Regions from separate parts of the Homo sapiens genome. Here region 1 is linked to region 2. The links are contacts of gene promoters, found by promoter capture Hi-C in human tissues and cell types (Jung and others, 2019). All regions are on one chromosome and are shown on one strand. The core of a region is centred on a gene start or on the middle of the fragment in contact, and the rest is flanking DNA. Distances in the headings are between cores, read along the strand shown. Region 1 overlaps ACSS2 (acyl-CoA synthetase short chain family member 2). Region 2 holds the start of UQCC1 (ubiquinol-cytochrome c reductase complex assembly factor 1).

The links. The method cuts DNA at HindIII sites, captures the fragments that hold promoters and counts their contacts. A contact is called where the count stands out against the background at its distance.
Region 1: a fragment that was not itself captured here is called in contact with the fragment with the promoter of UQCC1 in region 2 in 1 of the 25 tissues and cell types used here (liver).

Annotation. Positions count from the first base shown.
Region 1 is chr20:34,923,553-34,927,752 of GRCh38, forward strand. ACSS2 (acyl-CoA synthetase short chain family member 2) reads left to right here. Exons shown (of 18, transcript NM_018677.4): 15 at 2,146-2,214; 16 at 2,553-2,729; 17 at 3,325-3,399; 18 at 3,535-4,200. The coding sequence ends at 3,662. Among named protein-coding and RNA genes, the nearest start is that of GSS, 30 kb to the right of the region's middle. The HindIII fragment of the contact is 6,103 bases long and covers 1-4,200 here.
Region 2 is chr20:35,410,573-35,414,946 of GRCh38, forward strand. It overlaps UQCC1 (ubiquinol-cytochrome c reductase complex assembly factor 1), which reads right to left and starts at 1,401. Exons shown (of 10, transcript NM_018244.5): 1 at 1,368-1,401. The coding sequence starts at 1,391. RefSeq lists enhancers at 733-1,556, 1,147-1,246, 1,307-1,456, 1,557-2,379, 1,587-1,636. The HindIII fragment of the contact is 20,339 bases long and covers 1-4,374 here.

The DNA of each region.
Region 1 (4,200 bases), core at 44-2,543, 490 kb before region 2:
AAAGAGGTTTATTTTGGATCATCATTCTTCAGGCTGTGCAGGAAGCATGGTGCTGGCATCTGCCTATGGTGAGGCCTCAGGTAGCTTCCAATCACGGCAGAAAGCAAAGGGAAAGCCAGTGTTTGACATGGCAAGAGAGGAAGCAAGGGAGAGAGGGAGGAGATACCAGCCTCTTTTAAACAACCAGATCTTACATGAACTCATAGAGTTACTGCAAGTACAGCACCAAGCCATTCATGAGGGATCTGTCCCCCCCGCCCCCCCCACCTCCCCGGCCTTGACCAAAACACCTCCCACCAGGCCCCACCTCTAACACTGGGGATCATATTTCAACATGAGATTTGGAAGGGACAAACATCCAAACTATATCAGTTGGTTAGGGGTAAAGAAAATTAGAGAAGAATGTGTCCTACATGTCAGTATCTGGTTTCTACGCAGAGCTACAAAGACTGTAAGGGCAGGAATGAGTATAGCAGGAGGGGTCTCAGAATGGTGCCATCCGAACTTTGATGTATGAGGAAAGATGGACAATGTATGCTCCTGTGTTGAAAGAGATGGGGCATGTGGCAGTGCATGACTATTATGTCATGTTTGTCTTTATGTCTGGAGTCTGTGTTTCTCCATCTATCCATCTACCAATCCATTCATCCATAAGATCTGAGCACTGTGATCCTGTGCCCAGGCACTGATCATGAATAATGTAGTCAAAATCTCCTCCCTCATGGGGATTCTAGTAAGGGGAGACAGACAAACCCAACAAACATAAATAAGCTTATCTTAGATAGAGATAAATGCTGTTAAGAAAAATAAACAGGGTAGCATGATAGTGTGTGCAGGGATGGCTACTGTACACAGGATCGTCGGAGAAGACTTCTCTGAATTGACATTTGAGCAGAGGCCTGAAGGGTGAGAAGGAAACAGGCATGGGAAAATCTAGAGTAAGAGTGTTTTGTGCAGAGGGACACAGCTTGAGATGTCTGAAGAATGGACTGAAGCCTGTGTGGCTGGAGCGTAGCAAGCAAAGGGAAGAATATTACATGACGTTGGAGACGTACATAATACAGGGAGGGTCTTGTGGGCCATGGTGAGGAGTTTGAATTTTATTCAAAGTACAGTGGGAAACCTTTTTTTTGTTGTTGTTGTTGTTGTTGTTTGTTTTTTTTTTGAGACAGAATCTCACTCTGTCACCCAGGCTGGAGTGCGGTGGCACGACCTCAGCTCACTGCAACCTCCACCTCCCGGGTTCAAGCAATTCTCCTGCCTCAGCTTCTCAAGTAGCTGGGATTACAGGCGGGTGCCACCATGCCTGGCTAATTTTTGTATTTTTAGTAGAGACGGGGTTTCACCATGTTGGCCATGTTGGTCTCGAACTCCTGATCCACCCACCTTGGCCTCCCAAAGTGCTGGGATTACAGGCATGAGCCACCATGCCTGGCCACCTTTTGGGGTTTTAAGCAGGGGAGTGCTAAGAATTGATTTACTGTTTAGAAAATAACTTTGCTGGATTTATGGAGAATAGAGTTTAGGTGAGTATACTATTGGCATGGAACAAATTATCCCAAAAGTTGGCAGCTTAAAATAACAAATATTATCTCACACAGTTTCTGAGGATCAGGAGTCTGTGAACAGTTTCACTGGGTAGTTCTCATTCTGGGTCTCTTGTGAGTTTCAGTCAAGCTGTTGGTAGGGCCTGTAGTCATCTGAAGGTTTGAGTGAGCCTGGAGGACCTACGTTCATGCTTACTCGCATGGTTGTTAGCAGGAATCCTCAGTTCCTCACCTCACCATAGGACTACTCAATACATGGCAGCTAGCTTACCCTACAGCAAATGATCTGAGACAATGCAACCGAGACAAGCTAGGTGTCTTCTACAACCTAATCTCAGAAGTGACATCCTATCACTTCTGCCAAATCCTATGATGACACAGACTAACCCTAGTACAATGAGAAAGAGGACTGCAGGGCTATGAATACCAAGAGGCAGAGATCAGTGGTGCCCTCTTGGAGGCTGGCTACTACAGTGGGCAAGAGTGGAAGCAGGAAGACTTGTTAGAAGGCTATTGCAGAAGGTGTAGCAGTTTGGTAATGTGGATCAGGTATCCTACCGTAGGGTTTTTATTTATTAGGTTTTGCATTTCTTCCCAGGCTGCCAGCGGGACCAGGATGGCTATTACTGGATCACTGGCAGGATTGATGACATGCTCAATGTATCTGGTGAGGGCCAGGGGCCACCTTCCCATCTTATTAACTCTGCTCCTCTGACAACACCCAGCCGAAGCCTTCCGCAAGAGCCCAGGAGTGTCCTTTGGCCAGACCATGTACTAAGTGTAGCATTCAGTTCTGGGCCCAGGTTTTAGAGGAGTAATGAACACTGGAATGTGCCTAGAGTAGGGGAACTTGGATGGTGGGGTGACTGAAAGCATGTCATCTGAGGAGTGAATGAAGGGTCTTCTCCATTTGGCCAGACCAGGACTGCCCCATGGGTACAGATGGAGCATGGGCTGGGGCAGAGCCTGGGATCTCTCTCATGGCACTTCCTTTCCCTTGACAAGGACACCTGCTGAGTACAGCAGAGGTGGAGTCAGCACTTGTGGAACATGAGGCTGTTGCAGAGGCAGCTGTGGTGGGCCACCCTCATCCTGTGAAGGGTGAATGCCTCTACTGCTTTGTCACCTTGTGTGATGGCCACACCTTCAGCCCCAAGCTCACCGAGGAGCTCAAGAAGCAGAGTAAGGAGCCTCCCTGGGCAGGGACTATAGGGTCTGTCTTGGAGGCCCAGTTATCACTGCAAGTTGTTGGGGAGGGGCTAGAGCAAGCTGCTCCCCAAACCACAAACAGATTCCAGGGGGCCCCATGGGCTGATTGCCCTCTTCCTGTTCAGTCTCCACTAGTCTCCCACTAGGATAATAATAATAGCCAACATTTCTAGAATACTTTGTGCCACCGCTAGGCTAAGTGCTTTAAATGAATTACCCCACTTAATCCCTAGAGTCACCTCCATGAAACAGATCTTATTGTTACCTTCATGCTAAAGATGATGAAACTGAGACTCATGGAAGTTAAATCACTTGCCCAAGGCCACACTGCTAGAAAGGTGGCATTTAAACTCTAGCAGGCTCATTCTACAGCCTGAGTTCCATAAGATAAAATGAGAGAGTAAAGAGACAAGTGTGTTGAGAGCAAGAGAAGCAGTGAACCTGAGGCTGTCTCTGTGGGCAGGGACTTGAGGAGGAAACAGGTGGGGAACAAAGCCATCTCTACTTTGATTTTTGAAAAGTCTGGCTAAGGGTGCTGAAGAAATGCTTGATGATTTGTTGGTTACAGTTAGAGAAAAGATTGGCCCCATTGCCACACCAGACTACATCCAGAATGCACCTGGCTTGCCTAAAACCCGCTCAGGTATGTTCAGAGGCCTCCATGGATTGGGATGGGCTGAGGCCTGGTGGTGGTGGGGTGTGCGTGGATGAAAGCCTTTGGCAGGGCTAGGGTGGGTCAGTGCTTTCACCAAGTAACTAGAGGTCTGTGGTTCCCCAGGGAAAATCATGAGGCGAGTGCTTCGGAAGATTGCTCAGAATGACCATGACCTCGGGGACATGTCTACTGTGGCTGACCCATCTGTCATCAGTCACCTCTTCAGCCACCGCTGCCTGACCATCCAGTGAACATGATCCTGACCTTTACCTAGGATTCCTCCTGCTCCAAACTTTGCCCATCCTCTTTGCCCCCTCAGGAGTGCTGAGGGCCAGTGTTGACCCACACTACCCTCCCTTGACCAGCTGTCTGGGACCGGAAACCAGCTTTGTCTCCAGGTAGAGACAACATCCTGTGACTGCCAGGCAGAAAGGACAGGGCCCAGGTCAGCCTCAGTCTGCTGTGCCTCCAGACTGCAGAGCTCTCAGAACCCAGAACAGAGACGAAAAGGCTACCTCTCCTACCCAAGTTAAGTGTTCAAAGGGGATGTGAGGGCCTCCACTGAAGCAGGGAGGCAGCTGTGTAATCCTATGTCAGCTCTCTTAGGAAGCCCCAGTACTTATATTGGGCATGCACTTGCCCTTAAAAACAATGATTTGTGAGTCCAGGAACAATTTACTATTTTTAAAATATTTTGCTGCTTCTGTTCTGGGTCTGAATTCCCTTTTGTGCCAGATGCCAGTACTGTCTGCCCATTGGCTCCAGGGGCTGTATGGGCAGATTCAGTCT
Region 2 (4,374 bases), core at 151-2,650:
TGCATGCCTGTCATCCCAGCTACTCGGGAGGCTGGCACAGGAGAATTGCTTGAACCCGGGAGCAGAAGTTGCAGTGAGCCCGAGATGGCACCACTGCACTCCAGCTTCGGCGACAGAGCAAGACTCTGCCTCAAAAAAAAAAAAAAAAAAAACAAAACCCTAAAGGGTGGCAGGGGAAGGATTAAAAAAAAAAAAAAAAAAAAAACCACTAAATTCAGAACATTCTAATTGCCATTTCCCCAGCAGTCCTCATTTCTGAATCAATTTCTGGCCTGAAATCAAACAATCACTTCACCAGGTGAATCTTTCTGGCAGTTACAGGGGCTACTCTACAAATAAATATTTACTGAACAGCAGTCGAGGGTACCTCACTCTGCTAGGCTGGCAAGGAATACAAGAAGTAAAACTGTCGTCCTTGTAAGACATATATAAAAAGATCAAAAACACAAATGTAAAATAACAATTCAGAAGTTACCTAGACACAGGAATAGACCATGTCTACTATGAAAAACAGTGTCTTTGACCCAGTTTTTGAAGACTCGCTAAAACTATACACTCTCCCATCCCTCCATGATTAAAAACTAAGCTCTGTATCCTAACGTTTTTTCTGCTGCCACTTTCTTTTCTCCTTTAATTGCTAGAGAAAAGAGTATGCTAGAAGGGTCAGGACTAAATCTCAAGAGGTGCAGTAGTTTCACACACGGGTGCTAAAGAGTCTGGTAGTCTTTCCTTACTTCATTCATTTATTCAACAAGTAATCATTTAACACCTATGATGTGCCAGACACCATGCTAGGCAAAGTGAAAACGACGGAGACAGACATGACTCCAATTCTCACGCAGCTTTCAATCTAATAATCTATATTCCACTTAACTGTACAGTTAAGAACTGACTTATTACCTATGAAAGAAACCCTGAGAATCTCAGAATCTAAAGGGACTGCAGGAGATAAATGTCCTCGTTTTTCACATAGGGTCAATGAGGCCCAAAAGTGACTTGCTTAAAGTCACTATGCATCAGTGACAGTCAGGGACTAGAACCCAGGCCTCCTGAAACTCCAATCAGTGTCCTACATGCTCCTCTCCCTGAGGGGAAGCAGGTACATGGGGGAGGGAAGGAAAAGTAAACCCCATCAAATAAAGGCCAGATGTCAGTCTTCCCCTTCTCGAAAGATGGGGGAGCTAAGGTCAAAACGGGGTAGGAAGAGGTCGGAAGCTGCCTCAGTTTCCCCACGGAAAAGCGGCCACTCAGCCTAGCTATAACACAGGCTTCCCTCCTGCGATTCCTTCCAATTCCTCCCGCCCTGCCTTGTCGAACTCCAACCCGGGACCCAGAGAGCTACCGTAGAAAATTACTCCTTCACTCACAAGGACTCGCACCAGCAACGCCATGTTCCTCAATAACCATTTCCGGGTGAAGAGTGAGTTTCCGGTGTCCCCTTTTCTACGTCCTCCTTTTGCCGGCGAAAGACTGGCAAGGGGGGCGCAGGCGCAAAGAGGTCGCTACGCGCACGCGCTGTTGTTTTCTCGGCTGTGCACCAGGCTGTCGTGCCCGGGCACGCTCTCCCTGCTGTCTCCCCCACTACACGTAACAGTGGTTCAAATCCTTCCCCCACGCCTGTCTCCTTGACCCCAGACCTCGGGGCTTCTCATATCCCTCTCTTTATTCCCCACCTAACCCAGCCTCACTCCTCAGCCCCTCCTTCCCAAACTCCACCCCAACACTTTTCAATGGAGGTTGAAAAGAACAGGACTTTAGGAAATCCCAATCTTTAGAAAGAGCCAGAAGACCGGGCGCGGTGGCTCACGCCTGTAATCCCAGCACTTTGGGAGGCCGAGGCGGGCGGATCACCTGAGATCAGGAGTTCGAGACTAGCCTGGCCAACATGGCAAAACCCCGTCCCTAACTAAAAATACAAAGAAAGTAGCCGGGCATGTTGGTGTGTGCCTGTAATCCCAGCTACTCTGAAGGCAGAGGTTGCAGTGAGCCGAGATCGCGCCACTGCACTCCAGCCTGGGCGACAGAGCAGGACTGGACTCTGTCTCAAAAAAAAAAAAAAAAAAAAAAAAAAAAAAGCCAGAGAAGGAGGCTAAGATAAAAGAATACGGGGGATACCAGACTCCTGAAAGTCAAGGCAAGAAGGCGGTCATGTGCCGATCTGAAGCCTGGTAGAGGAAGAAACTTTTGGGATTTGTGGTTGGTTGGTTGTTTAAGGGAAACATCTTTGCATATTGATAGGAAAAGATTAGTGAAGAGTATACAGGGCCGTGCCCGGTGGCTCATGCCTGTAATCCCAACACTTTGGGAGGCCGAGGCAGGTGGATTGCCTGAGGTCAGGAGTTCAAGACCAGCCTGACCAATATGGTGAAACCCCGTCTCTACTGAAAATACGAAAAAAATTAGCCGGGCATGGTGGCGTGTGCCTGTAATCCCAGCTACTTGGGAGGCTGAGGCAGGGAATCGCTTGAACCCGGGAGGCAGAGGTTGCAGTGAGCTGAGACTGGGGCACTGAACTCCAGCCTGGGTGACAAAGCGAGACTCCGTCTCAAAAAAAAAAAAAAAAAAAGAGTATACAGGAGAATCAATCAAAGAGGCAAGGAGCTTCTTGAGGAAAGTGGCAGAGAACGGCCTTGGTAGAAGACTCCTCTTCCATTACATCCCAAGAGAAGAGAAGACAAAGTACTGGTGCTTTGGGGGTTGAGGGAGCAGAGGGGCAGGATGTTGAAGGACTTCTTTCATTTCATTCAGTCAACAAAGACCTATTGAGTCTTCCCTATGTGCTGAACACAAGACATACTGGCTTCATGGAGTTCTTAGACTGGTGGGGGAGGCATAGGAACCCAGTGAAAAAAATTAAAACTGGGGAGCTACTTTGGTTAGGTTGGTAAGGCCTCTCCAAGAAAGTGACATGTAAGATGAAATCTAAAGGAAGAAGAGGAGCTAGTCATGGGAAATAACTTCACTCGACTATTTTTTTAATTAAATTTATTGATTTTTATTAATTGACAAAAAATATATATTGTGTACAACAGGATGTTTTCTTTTTTCTTTTTTTTTTTTTTTTTGAGACAGAGTTTCACTCTTGTCGCCCAGGCTGGAGTGCAGTGGCTCAATCTCGGCTCACTGCAACCTCCACCTCCCAAGTCAAGCGATTCTCCTGCCTCAGACTCCCAAGTAGCTGGGATTACAGATGCGCACCACCACGCCTGGCTAATTTTTGTGTTTTCAGTAGAGACGGGGTTTTGCCATTTCGGCTAGGACGGTCTCAAACTCCTAACCTCAGGTGATCCACCCACATCGGCCTCCGAAAGTGCTGGGATTACAAGAGTGAGCCACCGTGCCCCCGGCCAGGATGTTTTAAAATATGTATACATTGTGAAATGGCTAAGTCAAGCTAATTAATATATGCATTACCTCATATTTTTGTGCTGGAAATGTTTAAAATATGTTCTTTAAGCAATTTTCAAGAATACAATACATATTCATAGTGGGTATAGTCACCATGTTATACAATAGATCTTTTCTTTTTTTTTTTGAGACGGAGTTTCACTCTTGTTGCCCAGGCTGGAGCGCAATGGCGTGATCTTGGCTCACTGCAACCTCTGCCTCCCGGGTTCAAGTGATTCTCCTGCCTCAGCCTCCTGAGTAGCTGGGATTACAGGCATGCGCCACCACGCCCAGCTAATATTATATTTTAGTAGAGACGGGGTTTCTCCATGTTGGTCAGGCTGGTCTCGAACTCCCGACCTCAGGTGATCCGCCTGCCTTGGCCTCCCAAAGTGGCCTCCTGAACTTATCTCTCTTAACTGAAATTTTGTATCCTTTGACAAACATCTCCTCAGCCTCTAGTAACCACCATTCTACTCTCTACTTCTGTGTGTTCAACTTATATTCCACATATGAGAGAAATCAAGCAGTGTTTGTCTTTCTGTGCCTCATTTATTTCTCTTAACATAACATCCTCCCAGTTCATCCATGTTGTCATAGATATGAGCATTTCCTTCTTTTTTTTTTCCTTGAGACAGAGTCTTGCTCTTGTTGCCCAGGCTGGAGTGCAGTGGCACAATCTTGGCTCACTGCAACCTCTCCCTCCCGGGTTCAAGCAATTCTCCTGCCTCAGCCTCCCAAGTAGCCTGGACTACAGGCATGTGCCACCACACCCAGCTAATTTTTATTTTTAGTAGAGATGGGGTTTCTCCATGTTGGTCAGGCTGGTCTTGAGCTCCCGACCTCAGGTGATCTGCCCACCTTGGCTTCCCAAAGTGTTGGGATTACAGGTGTGAGCCACCGCACCTGGCCAGCATTTCCTTCTTCTTTTAGGCTGAATAGCATTCCATTATATATATAAATCACTTTTTTTTTTTTTTGAGACAG